Linked DNA regions of Homo sapiens: region 2 is linked to region 1. Evidence: promoter capture Hi-C in 16 types of primary human blood cells and fetal thymus (Javierre and others, 2016). All regions are on one chromosome and are shown on one strand. The core of a region is centred on a gene start or on the middle of the fragment in contact, and the rest is flanking DNA. Distances in the headings are between cores, read along the strand shown.

What was found. Contacts are between HindIII fragments. The CHiCAGO score rates a contact against its expected background, and 5 or more counts as called.
Region 2: a fragment that was not itself captured here is called in contact with the fragment with the promoter of ABCC10 in region 1 in 3 of 17 cell types (erythroblasts, fetal thymus and total CD8 T cells); the score reaches 5.9 in erythroblasts.

Annotation. Positions count from the first base shown.
Region 1 is chr6:43,425,249-43,430,796 of GRCh38, reverse strand. It overlaps ABCC10 (ATP binding cassette subfamily C member 10), which reads right to left and starts at 3,256. Exons shown (of 22, transcript NM_001198934.2): 1 at 3,040-3,256; 2 at 2,658-2,829. The coding sequence starts at 2,818. LOC105375065 (a long non-coding RNA gene) reads right to left here. Exons shown (of 6, transcript XR_007059585.1): 6 at 4,783-5,548. RefSeq lists enhancers at 2,610-2,679, 4,781-5,302. The HindIII fragment of the contact is 12,589 bases long and covers 1-3,444 here.
Region 2 is chr6:42,979,653-42,985,837 of GRCh38, reverse strand. It overlaps LOC124900215 (a long non-coding RNA gene), which reads left to right and starts at 1,524. Exons shown (of 2, transcript XR_007059580.1): 1 at 1,524-2,006; 2 at 4,995-5,296. It overlaps PPP2R5D (protein phosphatase 2 regulatory subunit B'delta), which reads right to left and starts at 1,268. Exons shown (of 16, transcript NM_006245.4): 1 at 1,134-1,268. The coding sequence starts at 1,160. RefSeq lists silencers at 910-1,059, 1,150-1,219, 4,398-4,616, 5,855-6,051 and an enhancer at 1,370-1,489. The HindIII fragment of the contact is 2,641 bases long and covers 1,508-4,148 here.

The DNA.
Region 1 (5,548 bases), core at 2,007-4,506:
GAGCTGAGATCGTGCCACTGTACTCCAGCCTGGGTGACAAAGAGAGACTCTGTCCAAAAAAAAAAAAAAGAATCAAATACAGGAAAACGTATCTGCAGCAGTGAGTATCAGGATGTCTTGAAAGTTCATACAAAAAGAGGACTGAGTCTGTTACACCCTTTGTGGCACGGCTAGGTTACTAAAAAAGTTTACTTGTAAGCTAAAATGCAGAGTCTTGCTCTGTCGCCAGGCTGGAGCGCAATGGCGTGATCTCAGCTCGCTGCAACCTCCGCCTCCCAGGTTCAAGCGATTCCCCTGCCTCAGCCTCCCGAGTAGCTGGGGGTTTTCTTAAAAGTCCACCTGATGACAGTTATTTGTAGGGATTTAGATGGGAATAAAAAATCAGCCTTTAAGAATTCTATTTCTGGGCTGGGCATGGTGGCTCAAGCCTGTAATCCCAGCACTTTGGGAGGCAGAGGCAGGTGGATCACTTGAGGCCAGGAGTTCAAGACCAGCCTGTGTAACACAGTGAAACTCCATCTCTAGTAAAAATACGAAAACTGGCCAGGCATGGTGGCACATGCCTGTAGTCTCAGCTACTCTGGAGGCTAAGGCAGGAGAATCGCTTGAACCCAAGAGGTGGAGGTTGCAGTGGGCCGAGATCGTGCCACTGCTCTCCAGCCTGGGTGACAGAGTAAGACCCTGTCTCAAAGAAAAAAAAAATTTTTTTCTATTTCTGGCTGGGCATGGTGGCTCACATTTGTAAACCCAGAACTTTAGGAGGCTGAGGCAGAAGGATTGCTTGAGCCCAAGAGTTCAAGACCAGCCTGGACAACAAAGCAAGGCCTTGTCTCTACTAAAAATAATTTTTTCTTTTTGAGACAGAGTCTCGCTTTGTCGTCCAGGCTGGAGTGCAGTGGTGCAATCTTGGCGCACCACAACCTCTGCCTCCTGGGTTCAAGCGATTCAAGATGGGGTTTCACCATGTTGACCAGGCTGGTTTCAAACTCCTGACCTCCAGTGATCTGCCTGTCTCAGCCTCCCAAAGTGCTGGGATTACAGGCATGAGCCACTGGGCCCGGCCAATTTTTTGTATTTTTAGTAGAGATGGCATTCTGCCACGTTGGCAGGCTGGTCTCGAACTCCTGGCCTCCTACAGTGCTGGCATTACAGGCTTGAGCCACTGCACCCGGCCTATTAAAAATAATTTTTAAAAAAATTAGCCAGGTGTGGTGGCATGCACTTGTGGCCCCAGCAAATCAAAAGGCTGAGGTGAGAGGTTGCTGGAGCCCAGGAGGTTGAGGCTGCAGTGAACTGTGATTGCACCACTGTACTTCAGCCTGGGCAACAGAGGGAGACGCTGCCTCAAAAAACAAAACAACAATAACAATCCCCCCTCCCCCCCGCCACACACACACACACACACACACACACACACACACACAAGAAAGAAAAGAAAGAAAGAAAAGAAAGAAGGAAAAGAAAAAAATATATATATTTCCTAAGATGTGGGGACCCAAGAAAGAACACTGGGCCCTTGGAGGCATAAACTGGCCCCAAGTTGGCCATCAACCAGCCTCATCACCCCTTCAAGTCTCTTTTCCTCTCTGAATCTCACTTTCCTCACCAGTATGGTGAGCAGTGAGTCTCAAGTTAAAGCCTTCTGAGGCCCTTTCCTGTCTTAGATTCTCGATCTCTCTAACCCTTCTCAGCAACACACACAAGGCTGATAAGTGAAGTGAAGCACAATTTCTATTGATCACATGATGGTCTTTCTTGCTTTCCCAGGGGGCGGATGAATCCCTTCCTTGGATAGGAGAAGCTGTGTATCCGCTTGGTCTGGGAGGAATCCTGATTTGTTTCTTACACAGAGACAAAAGTCTAGAAGGGTTTAATCACCTAGCATAGACAGCCTTCTCAGAAGAGCAGCTATTAAAAATTGGCACAGTCTTTTGGGAACTCAGTCTAATGAGAAAGCAAGAAAGACCTCTTGGATAGAGACACTTCCCCCCATCAGACTAGGAACTCCCAAAGGCAGAGACCACACCGTCCTCCTATCTTCTCGGCAGCCAGAATGAGACTAACTTTAGTCATCTCTAGCCATACAAGAACTAAATACAAAATCAAGTTGAGTTTAGCATCCACACCTTATAGCCCTTAATTGGGGAAGGCTTAATGTTTGATTTTGCTCTTCTTGTCTATCTACTGCTTCCTCTTCAGCTGAGCCTAGGTATGCTTTTCTTAATCTGGAAACACTAAGGTTTCATGGGTTGCAGTGGTGAGAAACTGAGCCTACAACTTAAACACATCATCGCTTTTGGCTAAAAACGTTGTTCCCCCAATTCTGCCTCCAATTCATGACAGCTGAGTCCGGGTAGCTGAAAATGGACAATTCTGATGATTTCTGATACTCATCGGACCTTTAAAAACATGCCAGGCGCTGCACTATATGCTTAAATTCATTATCTCATTTAAACCTCCCAACAATGAGACTCAGAGAAGGCAGGTACTTGCCCAAGAACAGCCACATTGCTGCTAAGTAGCAATGCTTAGATTTTATTCTACTTCTGCCCTACTCCAGAGACCTCGCTATTCTGGTGACACTGCCGGAAGATGTAGGCCGCGGGTGAGATCTGCAGGCACACATGGACAGATGCCTTGCGCCCGTCTCTACCCACCTCGGGGTGCCCAAGTAACAGGCACTGAGCACGGCGAGGAGCGCGTGGGGCAGGGCGCTGAGCACCAGCTGGGTGAAGCAGTGGCCTGTGGTGTCCCCCTCCCACAGCGGGAGCGGCCACGCTGCGCTGCTGCCGCACAGCTGGGCCAGAAGTCGTTCCATGGACGCCTCACCTGAAGGGAAAGTTGAGGGTGACGGCTGTGCAGGGTAACAGCCGGCTTTGCCTGCACTTCCCAGCCGGGTCTCCCTGTCTCCAGCCCCGCCCTGGAACCGGGACCGCCCGTCGCTTCCGCCCCGAAGCCAGACCCCGCCCATTCTCGCGGTACCAAGGGTAAAAACGGGAGGAGGTTTCCCCAGTGGATTTCTGGACGCTGGTCACCCACCTTGCCATCTGTTTTTCCCCTCCCGTTTCTCCGCCCCCAGGCATCCGGAACCTCAAACCTGAAGAAGCTGCTGTGCACCGGATTCCGATATCCTGAGAACTGGTGTATGCAAAAAAAAAAAAAGTACTGCCCGGCCGGGGTGCTGGGCCCGCCCCGGCTGGCACCCCACCTAGAGGTTGGAAGACCTAGCCGGCGCTATTCGCCACGCCCATATGCTGGTAGCTGCACGCATGTGCACTGCTCTCTGCTTCGGCTGGCCTTTGCACGCAGGCGCGCTGGTGCAGACGCACAGTTGCGTTTTGGTACGCTTTTGTGGCCTGACTTGCGTTAAGGATCCATCCCTCCCTTAGTGCAACGTCATTTATAACCTCTCACGTGGAGTATTCGCTCACAACTGTGTAAGCTTACTAGTTGGCACAAGCATTGCAATCTCCATTTCTTGAAGAGGTGGGGAGCCGGGCACGGTTGCGCGCCTCGGTAGTCCCTGCGCGCCCGTAGTCTCTGCGCGCCGGTAGATCCCAGGAGGATGGCCTGAGCCCAGGAGTTCGAGAACAGTCCAAGCAGCATAGCGAGACCCCAGTCTCAGATAGATAGATGGATGGATGGAAATTCAAACATACCTGCCCCACGGACAAATAATGCCATTTTGGGACACACTGTTTTCCCTTATTATTCTAGGGCTGCATGACCTTGGACAAGTTACCTAACTTTTTTGAGCCTCAACTTTTTTTTGGGGGGGGGACGGAGTCTCGCTCTGTCACCAGGCTGGAGTGCAGTGGCACAATCTCGGTTCACTGCAACCTCCGCCTCCCGGGTTAAAGCGATTCTCCTGCCTCAGCCTCCCGAGTAGCTGGGACTACAGGCGCGCGCAACCACGCCCAGCCAATTTTTTTGTTCGTATTTTTAGTAGAGACGGGGTTTCACCATGTTGGCAAGGATGGTCTCGATCTCCTGACCTCGTGATCCGTCCGCCTTGGCCTTCCGAAGAGCCGGGATTACAGGCGTGAGCCACCACCCCGGCCGAGCCTCAACTTCTTTATTTGTACAACAGGGACAATACCAATACTAAAGTACTGTTGAGAGAGTTGAATAATTAATTTAGAGTGCTTAGGGCAAGTGCTTTGCCTAGGGTAGTCCTCCAATAAATCTTTTAAGGAAGCAGTGGGAAGAACATAACCTTTATAATTATACGGACCTGGGTTTGAATGCTTTTAGCAGAGGGATGTTGGGCAGGTTACTTCTGCATCTTTATTTTATTATGTTTGTCAGGCATGGTGTTGGTATCCGCCTTTACATAGGTGTGTACAGTGCTTGAAGAAGAAAAGCTAAACAAATGACAATTATGGTTATCCCACTTAATCTCAGTAAGAAGCCCCATATCCCTCAACGTCAAGAATTAATTTTCCTATTTTTAAAAACTAAGAGATGTAGGTTTGCATTTCACAATCTTTAGTAATTAATTAACAGAGTCTTGCTACCTGGCCCAGGCTGGTCTTGAACTCCTGGCCTCAGGTGATGCGCTTGCCTTGGCCTCCCAAAGTGCTGGGATTATAGGTGTGAGCCACTGCACCTGGCCAGGCTCCACTTCTAATTCTAATTCACTTGCTGTTTCCATCACATCTGCAGTTACTTCCTCCACTGATGTCTTGAAGGTCCATCCGTGAAGGTTGGAATCAGCTTCTTCCAAACTTCTGTTAATGTTGATATACGTTGTCCTCCTCCCATGAATCCCATGAATCACAGTTTTTTATTTATTTATTTATTTATTTTTATTGATCATTCTTGGGTGTTTCTCGCAGAAGGGGATTTGGCAGGGTCATAAGACAATAGTGGAGGGAAGGTCAGCAGATAAACAAGTGAACAAAGGTCTCTGGTTTTCCTAGGCAGAGGACCCTGCGGCCTTCCGCAGTGTTTGTGTCCCTGGGTACTTGAGATTAGGGAGTGGTGATGACTCTTAACGAGCATGCTGCCATCAAGCATCTGTTTAACAAAGCACTTGCACCGCCCTTAATCCATTTAACCCTCAGCGGACACAGCACATGTTTCAGAGAGCAGGGGGTTGGGGGTAAGGTCATATATTAACAGCATTCCAAGGCAGAAGAATTTTTCTTAGTACAGAACAAAATGGAGTCTCCTATGTCTACTTCTTTCTACACAGACACAGCAACAATCTGATTTCTCTATCTTTTCCCCACATTTCCCCCTTTTCTATTCGACAAAACCACCATCGTCATCATGGCCCGTTCTCAATGAGCTGTTGGGTACACCTCCCAGATGGGGTGGCGGCCGGGCAGAGGGGCTCATCACTTCCCAGAAGGGGCGGCCGGACAGAGGCGCCCCCCACCTCCAGGACAGGGCAGCTGGCCGGGCGGAGGCGCCCCCCCCCACCTCCTGGACGGGGCAGCTAGCCGGGCGGGGGCTGCCCCCCACCTCCCGGACGGGGCAGCTGCCAGGCGGAGACGCTCCTCACTTCCCAGACAGGGCAGCTGCCGGGCGGAGGGGCTCCTCA
Region 2 (6,185 bases), core at 1,579-4,078, 440 kb after region 1:
CCATTGCACTCCAGCCTGGGCAACAAGAGCAAAATTCCATCTCAAAAAAAAAAAAAAAAAAAGAAATGGCCTGTGTCAGGACATCATGATAAAGACATGGGTGTTCAGGGGTGGCTGGCCTGCAGGCTAAGAAGGAACAATAATCTGACAGTGAGGACAAATTCCCAATTTGAAGATGGTGTAGCTTAGGAAAGGCAGAAATCCAGCACTGGTGCGAAAAGAAAAAAAAAAAGGAAAAATGCAAAGGTTATCCTAGGATTAAGAATAAGGGTGAGGAGCCTACTCAGATTAGGAAAGGTGACTGGTCTAGGATGCACTTGGGTGACAGTTAGGAGGGCTTTGATACAAAAGAGGCCTTTAAGTCAGGAGACCTGATATTGCAGCTGGGCCTCCAGCAGGCTGTGTGACCTTGGACAAGTCCCTTGCCCTGTCGGGGCCTCAGTCTCCTCATCTGTACCATTAGGGATTGCACTGCATGCGCTCAGAGGTCCCTTCCAGCACCAACGTTGTGAGGTTCCATCAACAGAAGGGCTCAGTCCTGCTTACAAGTTTGTGTGTGAAGGAAGAACTAGAGGGAGGGGCCTAGGCCAGATTTGGGTGGAGGAGAGAGAAAGCAGCGCTGTTCTAGGTCAGGGGCTTGGCATGGAAAGAGAAGGGGCCGTAGGGGACTGCGGGGCGGCTGTCCCAGGCGGGTAGGAAGAGGAGACAAGGGGCTGCTCAGGGCGGGGCGAGGGGGCAATTCTGGAGGAAGGTGCAGTTTCAGATGAGGGGCTGCCCAAACCGAAGGGGGATCGGGGCCAGGGGTGATGGGGGGGACAGAAAAAGCAGGACAGTGACCTGGGAATGGGGCAGATCTGGAAGAAGGAGGTTACCCTGGGCCGGGGGTAAGAGAAGGGAAGAAGGGAGGGAGGTGTATGTGGGGGGAGTCTCTCCGGGGCAAGGTGGGGGAGCTGTCCTAGCTGCGGCACAAGCTGGGGGTGCTGCCAGCCGCGGGGGCGGAGGGCTGGCCCCAGGAGTCCTGCGGGGGCTGGACGGGAGGGTCAGTCTGGGGCTGTCCCGGGCCTGGCTCCGGCCCCTCCCAGAGCTCCGCGCAGGCTCCAAGGCGGCGGTGGGGGAAAAAGGGCCACGCTCACCTTCTCCTTTTTCAGTTTATAGGGCATCTCGGCCCGTCCGGACCCGGCCCGTCTCCTGCGGCCCCGCTCCGGCTCCGGCTTTGCTCGGCCGCACTCGGCCCGCTCGGCGTCTCTTCGCCACCGCCTGCGCGCTGCGCCCGGGTCGAGCGGTGCCTGCGCCTCCAATTGGCCCGAACTCCTACAAAACTGCCTGACAACCAGGCGCCGCCTCCTCGGATTGGTCATTGGAGCCAAGCTGCTTCCTTTTTTTCTTATTGGAAAGAAATAGTACAAACCGCCAGGGTTCGGCTTCCAGAATTGGCTGAAGTGGGTGGTCCCGCCCTAAAGTGGGTCGAGCTTAGAGAAGGAGGCGGGGATAAGGGGAAACCCAAGCTTGGCTAGGAGGGCTGCACTCCAGCGTCTGCTGTGCGTCGGCCTCGGCCATTCTTCGCGGCGCTTGGAGCCCTGCTCTTTCCTTCTAAAGGCTCTCACACTTTGCCCGCTCTGCTACCCTGTCCAGTCGGAATTGGAGGAAGGAAGCCCTAATACGGAGGGCACCTTTCTTCACTGGGGTAAAGTAGCCCTAATTGCAGATGCAAAATTGATGGAGGGAGCTCCCAAGGACCTTCCAAGACACCCGCCTCCCTAGACAGGGGTTGCAGAGGAGCAAAGGGGAAGCCTGGCAGGGCTAGGACCTGGGCGAAATGAGTGGAGAATCCCTGGCTTGGTGCAACTTTAGGAAGAGGGTCCCCGTTGCTACTGCAAGTGTACTGGGATTGGGGAACCAGCTAGATTTGAGCAGTTGGGAACGCAGTGGAAAAGCAACTTCATTGTTGACTGTCTCAGGAAATCCATCCCTTACTTGCCACCCTGCTCAAGTCCGTGTTCTAATGGGTAAGACTCAGTTTATGCCCACAAAGAGTTCGCAGTCTGGTGAATCACAGATGTGTATAAACAAAGGATTAAGAGAGAATGTAAACCAGGCAGGCACGGTGTCTCACGCCTGTAATCCCAACACTTTGGGAGGCTGAGGCAGGAGGATCACCTGAGGTCAGAGGTTCGAGACCAGCCTGGCCAACATGGCGAAACCCCGTCTCTATTAAAAATACAAAAATTAGCTGGGTGTGGTGGTGCACGCCTGTAATCCCAGCTACTCGGGAGGCTGAGGCAGGAGAATCACTTGAACCCGGGAGACGGAGGTTGCAGTGAGCCGAGATCACACCACTGCACTCCAGCCTGGGCGACAGAGCAAGACTCTGTCTCAAAACAGCAACAATGACGACAAAAAGAATAAACCTGTGGCCAGGCTCGGTGGCTCACGCCTGTAGTCCCAACACTTTGGGAGACCAAAGTGGGCAGATCACGAGGTCAGGAGTTTGAGACCAGCCTGACCATAGTGGTGAAACCCCATTTCTACTAAAAATACAAAAATTAGACAGGGTGCGGTGGCTCACGCCTGTAATCCCAGCACTTTGGGAGGCCGAGGTGGGCGGATCACGAGTCAAGAGATCGAGGCCATCCCGGCCAACATGGTGAAACCATGCCTCTATGAAAAATACAAAAATTAGCGGGGCGTGGTGGCGCGCGCCTGTAGTCCCAGCTACTCGGGAGACTGAAGCAGGAGAATCACTTGAACCCGGTAGGAGGCTGAGGCAGGAGAATTACTTGACCCCGGTAGGTGGAGGTTGCAGTGAGCCGAGATCATGCCACTGCGCTCCAGCCTGGGCGACAGAGCAAGACTCCGTCTACAAAAAAAAAAGAAGAAACCTGTGATGCAAAGGCATGAGAATGATACAATGGAGGCCGGGCGCGGTGGCTCACGCCCGTAATCCCAGCACTTTAGGAGGCCGAGGCGGGCGGATCACGAGGTCAGGAGATCGAGACCATCCTGGATAACACGATGAAACCCCGTCTCTACTAAAATAATACAAAAAAATAGCCGGGCGTGGTGGCAGGCGCCTGTAGTCCCAGCTACCCGGGAGGCTGAGGCAGGAGAATGGCGTGAACCCGGGAGGCAGAGGTTGCAGTGAGCCTAGATCATGCCACTGCACTCCAGCCTGGGCGACAGAGCAAGACTCCGTCTCAAAAAAAAAAAAAAATACTACACATTGGGTACAGTATACACTGCTTGGGTGATGGCTGCATCAAAATCTCATAAATCACCACTAAAGAACTTATTCATGTACAAAAAATAAATTTTTAAAATTCTATATAAAATAAAATATTTAGTCTTAAAAAAAAAAAAGGTCAGGCGCAGTGGCTCACGCCTGTAATCCCAGCACTTTGGGAGACTGAGGAGGGCGGATCACCTGAGGTCAGGAGTTCAGGACCAGCCTGGCCAACATGGCAAAACCCCGTCTCTACAAAAATACAAAAATTAGCCAGGCATGACGGTGGGTGCCTGTAATCCCAGCTACTCAGGAGGCTGAGGCAGGATAATCCATTGAACCCGGGAGGTGGAGTTTGCAGTGAGCCGAGATCGCACCATTGCATTCCAGCCTGGGCGACAGGGCAAGACTCCATCTGAAAAAAAAAAAAAAAAACACAAAACCTGTGTCCCTTACCCAGGTACCCAGGAGAGCAATGTTACAAGACAGTGGCCGTGGGGATGGAGAAGAGAGGATGGAGCATGAAAATGTGTAGAATCAACAGGATATGGTGATTCATTGTATTGTGGGGGGGACGGTAACGGAAAGGGAAGAGTTGAGGATGATTTCTGGAAGTGATCAGAGTTGTAGGAGGACAACTGGTGTCATAATGGCAAAGGAAATAAAAGACAATTGGTCAGTAGTGTCAGAGAAAGAACAGCATCATCTTGATTCTGCAATTAGAAGATTATGGGTGATTTTTTCAGAGAGTGGAAGACCGTTTTTAGTGAGTGGAAGAGTGAGCATCAAGAGGTGAGGAAGTGAAGATGGCAAATGTAGGGTCCTGGCGATCTTACAGAAGTAGTATTTGGCTTTCGGTGACTAATGACGATTTCAGGGTAACACAAAGTGGACTACATGCCCGCTGTTACCTGCTGGGAGAAAAGCTTGGGAGAAAAGGACATTTATTTGTGGGTGGGTATTTGTGTCTGTATGAGTGCTGATCCAGGCAAGATAACTGATGTTTTTACCCATCTCCAAGGCCTCAAGGAGCACTATAGTCCTGAGGCCTAGAGCTTGCCTGCTACTGAGGAAAGCAGGCATATCCTCTTTAGGCCCATGTACCATCTATCTAGCCCTTGGTTCCTCTGGGACATAGGGGACCAAGAAACATATAGTAGCACTACCAAATGGGAACTTTCATCCATGTGAATCTAGGTACCTAGAACATTCTTTATTTAGTTTTTTTTTCTTTTAATTTTATATATTTTAAGAGACAAGGTCTTGCTCTGTCACCCACTTGGAGTGCAGTGGCACAATCATAGCCTCAAATTCCTGGGTTCAAGTGATCCTTCTGCCTCAGCCTCCCCATAGCTGGGATTATAGACACAAGCCATGGTTCCTGGTTAGTACATTCTTGCATGCTATTTTATTTATTTTTTTCTATTATTTATTTTTTTGAGACGGAATCTCACTCTGTCACCCAGGCTGGAGTGCAGTGGCGCAGTCTCGGCTCACTGCAAGCTCTGTCTCCCGGCTTCACGCCATTCTCCTGCCTCAGCCTCCCGAGTAGCTGGGACTACAGGCACACACCACCATACCCAGCTAATTTTTGTATTTTTAGTAGAGACGGGGTTTCACCATGTTGGCCAGGCTGGTCTCAAACTCCTGGCCTCAAGCAGTCCACCCACTTGGCCTCCCAAAGTGCTGGGATTACAGCCATGAGCCACTGCGCCCAGCCCCTTATAATATGCAAATCTAATAGTTTTCATATATTTGTCTTTCAAATTTTCAGGAATGTATAATGTACAAAATAGAAGACTGCCTCAAGAAGAAAGGAGAGATGGAGAAAGCTGAGCAGTAGCTGAAAGAGAATGTAAGGTCTAGAAAATGGAGATTGGCACCATCCAATTCATTTATTGTAAGTGAAAATAATTGTTAATAATTGGAAATGCAGTGGGACATGATGGCTTATGCCTGTAGTCCCAGCACTTTGGGAGGCTGAGGCCTGAGGATCTCTTCAGACCAGGAGTTTGAGACCAGCCTAGGCAACACAGAGAAACTCTGTCTCTACAAAAAATAAAAAATTAGTCCAGGCGCAGTGGCTCATGCCTGTAATCCCAGCACTTTGGGAGGCGTAAGCAGGTGGCTCACTTGAAGCCAGGAGTTCGAGACCAGCCTGACCAACAGGGTGAAACCCCGTCTCTACTGAAAATACAACATTAGCTGGGTGTGGTGGCACACACCTGTAATCTCAGCTACTTGGGAGGCTGGGGCAGGAGATTCTTTGAACCTGGGAAGCGGAGATTGCAGTGAGCTGAGATCGTGCCATTGCACTCTGGCCTGGGCAACAAGACCGAAACTCCGTCTCAAAAAAAAAATTGGCTGGGTATGGTGGCGTGTGCCTGTGGTCCCGGCTACAGTTACTCGGGAGGCTGAGGTGGGAGATCACTTGAGCCTGGGACGGTAGAAGCTGCAATGAATGGGGATCGTGCCACTGTACTCCAACCTGGGTGACAGAGTAGGACCCTGTTGCCATAAAAAAGGAAATGTGGCCTACCACTAGCTGAGTGTCTTGTACAGAACAGTGGAGGTGAAGAGAAGGATGGAATCTAAATAACAGCACACGCAGGAAGTCGACTGTTGGTGTTATGCTGACAGAAGCCTTGAACTCCTTTCCTTCTGCCTGCTCTGCTGCCTGCCCCGCTCTAGGATAGAAAGTGAATGGGTTTCCGATCTGCAAGGATTTGGGGGGGGGGGGTGAAAGAAAAGCTGTTTTGTCTTCAACTTAAGTTTGGTGGGAGTAAAACAAACAGAACAATGAACAGGGCAAGAAGTCCTGGAACATGGGTTTTGTGCCAGATGTGCTGGAACATGTGTGGTGGCACCAAGCACTCCAGGGCTGTATGAATCACATCTAGTAATTCACTCAGCAGCCACTATATACCTATAAGCAAGTGTGAGACAGTTTTCTAATCCTGCTACT